Linked DNA regions of Homo sapiens: region 1 is linked to region 2. The links are contacts of gene promoters, found by promoter capture Hi-C in human tissues and cell types (Jung and others, 2019). All regions are on one chromosome and are shown on one strand. The core of a region is centred on a gene start or on the middle of the fragment in contact, and the rest is flanking DNA. Distances in the headings are between cores, read along the strand shown. Region 1 has its middle 14 kb from the start of PPP1R13B-DT. Region 2 holds the start of RD3L (RD3 like).

Region 1 (3,334 bases), core at 705-3,204, 81 kb after region 2:
TGGCAGATACATATGGTTATGCATTTGTCCAAACCCATAGAATGTATGAGAGCAAGCGTGAGCCCGAATGTAAACTATGGACTCTGGAGATCATGATGTGTCAATGAAGGTTCATTGATTGTAACAAACGTGCCACTGTCAGGGGAGATGTTGGCAGTGGAGGAGGCTGCATGGGGTGGAGGGACAGCGGTCTATGGGAGAGCTCTGTGTCTTCCACTCCATTTGGCTGTGAACCTAAAACTTCTCTAAAAAATAAAGCCTATCATAATATTTTTAAAAAATCAAGCCAGGCAGAACAGGGTCTGGAGGCAGGGAATCTAAGGGCATTTCACACCAACTTCCTAGAACTAAATTGAAAAGAAAACCCTAACTTTCCAAGCCTAAATAACAAAAGGAGCCGAAGCTACTTCTTTTGCAAACCTCCTTTTTTTTTTTTTTTTTTTGGAGACAGGGTCTCTGTGGTCGAGGCTGGAGTGCCAGTGGCATGATCTTGGCTCACTGCAACCTCTGCCTCCCAAGTCCAAGCGATTCTCCTGCCTCAGCCTCCCGAGTAGCTGGGACCACAGGCAGGTGCCACCACCACGCCCAACTAATTTTTTTGTATTTTTAGTAGAGATGGGGTTTCGCCATGTTGGCCAGGCTGGTCCTGAACTTCTGACCTCAAGTGATCCGCTCTCCTCAGTTTCCTAAAGTGCTGGGATTACAAGCGTGAGCCACTGCACCTGGCTTGAACCCACACCTTTTCTTCATGGCAGATGGGAAATTGGCTGTTGGCAACCAATCAGACTGAATGGTGACCGAGTCTTCATTTGCACAGGAGTATAACTTTGTAACTTTAGCCTCTGATTGGTCACTTTCTATAGCCAATCAGATGTTTGCACAGGAGTGTGACCTTTGTAACTTCACTTCAGCCTCTGATTGACTGCTTTCCGCAACCAATTGTGGGCCACTGCTTCATTTACATAAGGTGACTACCAAGTGGCCAATAGGAAACCTGTAGTGGGTATTTGAACCCGAGAAGATTCTGTATCCGGGCTCTTGAGCTGCTCCAGCTGCTTCCACACTGTGGAGTGTACTTTCATTTTCAGTAAATCCCTGCTTTCGTTCTTTCATTGCTTCATTCTTTCTTTGCGTTGCTGGGCATTTTGTCCAATTCTTTGTTCAAAACGCCAAGAACCTGGAAAACTTGCAGTCAAGACCCTCTACTGGTGACACAAGTACATGGATTATTATTATGATGATGATTTTTTTGGAGACAGAGTCTCGTTCTGTTTTCCAGGCTGGAGTGCAGTGGCATGATCTAGGCTTACTTCAATCTCCACCTCCCAGGTTAAATCAATTCTTGTGCCCCAGCCTCCCGAGTAGCTGGGATTACAGGTGCGTGCCACCACACCTCGCTAATTTGTCTATTTTTAGTAGGGATGGGGTTTCACCATGTTGGCCAGCCTGATCTCAAACTCCTGGCCTCAAGACATCCGCCGGTATGTGCATGTATGTGGGGGTGTGTGTGTGTGTGTAAATTCCCCCCTGGCCCCAGCTGGACCCGTCTTTCAAGACCAACATCCTTCAGCAAAGCCCCTCCTGGCCTTGCCTGTGCTCTTCAGACCTCGCTCAGCTGAGCAGACCCCTGGCTCCGGGCAGGCTAAGGGGCCAGCAACTTCCTTTCAGCGTTTCTGGGAGGTATGCACCATGTCCTCCTACTTCACTTGAGAGGTGTTTCCTGAACTTTTCAGAACCATCTCAGGCACCCCAGCACCAATTGCAGCAGTCAGCCACCTTATCTCCAAATGCCACTGCCAGCTGCCTTCTCTGGTGTTGGCAAAAAGGACAGATCACCCTGTTCCCCTCTGTACTCATGTCTATGTGGGGAAGGCTGGTGTGGGTGAGCCAGTGAGAAGATGCTGCTGTTGAGCTGGTGGGAGTGTTTCAAGGTCAGGTCGGCAGCCTTCTCACTCAAGGCAGATCAGCAGATGAGCTGGCTGGCCATGAGATGGGGCCCTCCCTAGCAGGCAGCAGCGTCTCACCCAGTGCAGGGACACAGCAAATGCCGATGTGGTGTTCACCATGTGATGCACACATTGTTTCATGTAACTGACAAAAATCCTTGAGGGAGGCTGGGCGCTGTGGCTCACTACTGTAATCCCAGCACTTTGCGAGGCCAAGGCGGGTGGATCACCTAAGGTCAGGTGTTTGAGACCAGCCTGGCCAACATGGTGAAACTTCGTCTCTACTAAAAATACAAAAATTAGCTGGGCATGGTGGTGCACGCTTGTAGTCCCAGCTACTTGGGAGGCTGAGGCAGGAGAATTGCTTGAACCCGAGAGGTGGAGGTTGCAGTGAGCCGAGATCTTACCACTGCACTCCAGCCTAGGTGACAGAGCAAGACTCTGTCTCAAAAATAATAATAATAATAATAATAATAATAATAATAATAATAATAATCCTTGAGGGAGGCACTGTTATTATCCCCATCTACAGGTGAGCAAACTAAGGCACAGAAACGTTATGTAACTGGCCCAAAATTACACAGCCGAAACTAAGTGGCAGATGTTCTCTAGCTCCACAGTCCAAGCTCATAGGTACTGTGTGAAAGAAAGCACATTTTGGGCCGGGCGCGGTGGCTCACGCCTGTAATCCCAGCACTTTGGGAGGCCGAGGCGGGCAGATCACGAGGTCAGGAGATCGAGACCATCCTGGCTAACATGGTGAAACCCCGTCTCTACTAAAAATACAAAAAATTAGCCGGGCGAGGTGGCGGGCGCCTGTAGTCCCAGCTGCTCAGGAGGCTGAGGCAGGAGAATGGCGTGAACCCAGGGGGCGGAGCCTGCAGTGAGCTGAGATCCAGCCAAGATTGCGCCACTGCACTCCAGCCTGGGCAACAGCGAGACTCCATCTCCAAAAAAAAAAAAAAAAGAAAGAAAGAAAAGAAAGCACATTTTGCTAACTTCTTGCTACAAAATATCCAAGTAGTTACTGCCAAATGGATCCTGAGCTCATAAAACAATGCAAAGTGTATACATTGTAGAGAGTGCAGGATTTAGAGTCAGAAGAGCTGGATTTGAATCTTGGCTCTCCCACTCAGAGGCTGAAAGACCCGGAAAGCCTCCATATCCTCATCTGTAATGAAGGAGAAATGGTATTTCCTTCACAGGATTATAGCGACCGGCAAGTGAGATAAAATCCTTTGAAACACTTGGGAATGATGCAATGACAATTTTGAAAATCAAAATTAAATTTCAACATAAAAATAAATTAAGGAGCACTCAGAACTGGCCTTGATTCGGCCCTCTAGAAAGACCACAGCAGACGGACTAGGAGAGAAACCCCTGGCCAG
Region 2 (3,302 bases), core at 516-3,015:
AGCGTCAGGGGGCAACGTGGCCTGGCTGAAACAAAAGGTGTGCTCTAGGGTCGAGCAAGAAAGCAAGCCAGGTAAGGAGGGATAACGTAAGACTGTAGAGGGCCTTGAAGGAGGGATAATGTGAGACTGCAGAGGGCCTTGAACAGAAATTTGGCTTAAGTTCCATATCCAATATGTTCTGATATTTTTGTTACCATTTCAGAGGAAAAAAATTTATGCAGTAACAAGGAGGTTATTCAAAGGAGTATGCGGCAAGATTCGCTGTAATTTTAGTATAAAATTTGGTAGGACACTTCTGTCATCATAAACTTTACTCCTTTCCTTCTCCTAACAGTATATGCAATGTCATGTGAAAACCTTCCAGTTGACAATAATCAGTCCTGACATCTGGCTTTTTCTAACATCTAAGCAACAGGAGCTGTAGGGTGGCCACACACGTCACTCTGGGTCATGCATGACATGCAAGTCTGATGTAAACAACGTCTACTCTTCATGGCTCACTTGAAAGGAAAAGCAACAGAAGAAACAAATACTATAAAAGGGAAAACCACTATGCAGTCGTTTCACAGAGAACTGGGGAGTAAAAGACCTTTTATACTATCTACTCTTTAGCAAAAGACAAACACTTGCATAGGAAATTAGCACAGGCCAGCGCAGTGGCTCATGCCTGTAATCCCAGCACTTTGGGAGGCTGAGGCAGGTGGATTACTTGAGCCCAGTTTACGGACCAGCCTGGGCAACACAGGGAGACCTTATTTCTACAAAAAAAAAAAAAAAAGAAATGTATGTGTGTGTGTATATATGTGTGTATTATATATGTGTGTATATTTATATATACATATATAATACATATACATATGCGTATATATACTTATGTGTATATATACATATATGTACATATATAAAATACATACACATATGTACATATATAAAACATATATGTATGTACATATGTGCGTGTGTATATATTTTTTTAAACTAGCCAGGCATGCCGTAGCATGCACCTGTGGTGGCATGCACCTATGGTCCTGGCTATTCAGGGGGCTGAGGTGGGAGGATCACTTGAGCCCAGGAGGTCGAGGCTACAGTGAGCCGTGATCATGCCACTGCACTACAGCCTGGGTGACACAACGTGACTCTGTCTCAAAAAAAAGAAAGAAAGAAAAAAGAAATAGCACAATAATGACCATTACAAACCAATATGCACCTAAATAGTAAATATAAGTTTTTCATCCTCAGCTCCAAAAAAAAAACACGAAAATGATTTTTCTACGATGAATTATAAGATTTTGTTTAGAATTTTGTATGTTCTTATGCCTCTATTTTTCCCTGACAACCAATTACTGCCTTATTACCATATTTTCAGAGATTATAAAGTATATTTTAAAGTTATCTAGCTGTTTATTATGTCCCCTAGCATTTCAACTTGCTTAAATATACAAATTTAACTATTTTGAAAAAACCAAAATGAATACAAAATGTAACATTTGCTAAATATTTCACAATTATAATTCACATCAGCATTCTTTACCTATTTCACTCAATTACAATGAGTTTTCTCAGAATGTATGTTTTGCAAATAGTCAAGTCTAATCTATTTTTCCTGTTTTCACTAGAGGGGACAGTGACCCGGCTTCCAAATGGCCTGAAAGTTAAGCTGAAGAATAAAAGCAACGTGGCTATTTTTAGAGCTCTACAGGCATAAAAATACAGCACTAAACTGTGACCTACAGCTATGCACAGCAAAGCATCACATCACGCGACAGTCTTCACTCTAGCTCGGAGCGCATCTATGGTGCTTTAGACGACCATTCTTCGTTTCACTACCAAAGACATGTCGGAATGCATTTAGGACCAGCATCTATAGCTGCTGGCATTTTTTTCAAATAGACTGAGCTACATTGAAAAGGCAGACCATTATATAACTTGTGAAGATTAAATAGTCAGTTATTTTTGTCATTTCTTCTAGCTTACTTACAAGGTGAATTAATGAGCATTCTCTCCAAATGAAGACATCACAGCCTCATTCCTAACACAGAAAGTTATTTATTTCAAATACAGTTTCGGTGGGTAAATAAGGTGGCGCATTCCTTCTACAGAGGACACACCTAGGAGAGCAAGATACGTCCCAGTGAAACACAGCTTCGTCACCAACTTCAGTCAACTCTTTGGCAACATCACATCAGCCCATCAACTTAACAGGTAAGCTTTAAACCTTTTCTGTCCAAAACATAAATCAAAAGTATCTGTAGGCAGCACTTGCCCCGACATTAATATTTTAAGTCTCTTAAGAACTTTTCACAGCAAGTGTTAGTGTTATTTTCGGATATCATTCAGTCTATATGTTATCTCTGACTTTGTATATCTAATTTCTGCTAAGCTACATAAAAGCATTTTCAAAGCTTGGTTTCTGCCACTGACCTAGTTAAAAATTAAGACGTTAATCCATGTTCTAATCTTATTTTGACCTGCATAGCTAAATGTGAAAAAAAATCGTGCACTTTTCGGGCAAATTTATTGTAAAGAAACAAATATTTGCTCAGAAGAACATAACATTTTGAGCAAATAAACAAGTGAAAATATTTCCATAGGCTAAAAATGCCACTTTTTGGCTGGATGAAATGGCCCAAAAACGATTCCTACAAACCCACACACTATCCTGGCTCAGACATAGTGACAAAGACTCTGCTTCGGGAATTAAAATGGCACCTAAAGGAGCGAGAGAGATTAATACAAGAAATCGAAAATGAACAAAAAGTGAAAAAAACAGGTGTGGATTACAACTGGCTCAGAAACTACCAGAATCCCCACACAACTATCCCAGTGACTGAACAAAGACAACTTGAAGTTCTTTGCTCACAAGTTCAACCTTGCCAAACTGGAACTATTCTCAGCAGGTAAAAATACTATGTTCTCTTATGATTCCTGCTACTGCTAAGTCCAAGTTCCTCATATATTTTGACTAGAAACTGTATTCTATCATGTAAATTCTTTAACTGTGTAGATGTCTGGTGAGCAATTGTTTTAAATTACATTTAAAATTTCTTTACTAGAAGCATAATTTTAAAACAACATGCAAAATACTCAAAAGGTGGGTAACTTGTATACATTATTCAAGCTGTATTTTGGAGATAAAGAGATATAACAAAAAATGTTCTAAACTGAATATTCATTACCATTTCCCCTCTAGATTTCGAGAAGTTTTGGCAGAAAATGATGTACTGCCATGGGAAATAGTCTACATCTTCAAGCAAGTTCTGAAAGACTTCCTAAGCAGCTCTGACAGAGGGAGTGAGCAAGAG

What was found. Contacts are between HindIII fragments. The study calls those that stand out against the background at their distance.
Region 1: a contact is called between a fragment that was not itself captured here and the fragment with the promoter of RD3L in region 2, in 5 of the 25 tissues and cell types used here (H1 embryonic stem cells, dorsolateral prefrontal cortex, liver and 2 more).

The regions. Positions count from the first base shown.
Region 1 is chr14:103,860,229-103,863,562 of GRCh38, reverse strand. No RefSeq gene overlaps it. Among named protein-coding and RNA genes, the nearest start is that of PPP1R13B-DT, 14 kb to the right of the region's middle. The HindIII fragment of the contact is 8,038 bases long and covers 1-3,334 here.
Region 2 is chr14:103,940,992-103,944,293 of GRCh38, reverse strand. It overlaps RD3L (RD3 like), which reads left to right and starts at 1,765. Exons shown (of 3, transcript NM_001257268.2): 1 at 1,765-2,202; 2 at 2,592-2,897; 3 at 3,191-3,302. The coding sequence starts at 2,599. The region is part of intron 1 of TDRD9 (tudor domain containing 9); the gene reads right to left. The HindIII fragment of the contact is 5,559 bases long and covers 1-3,302 here.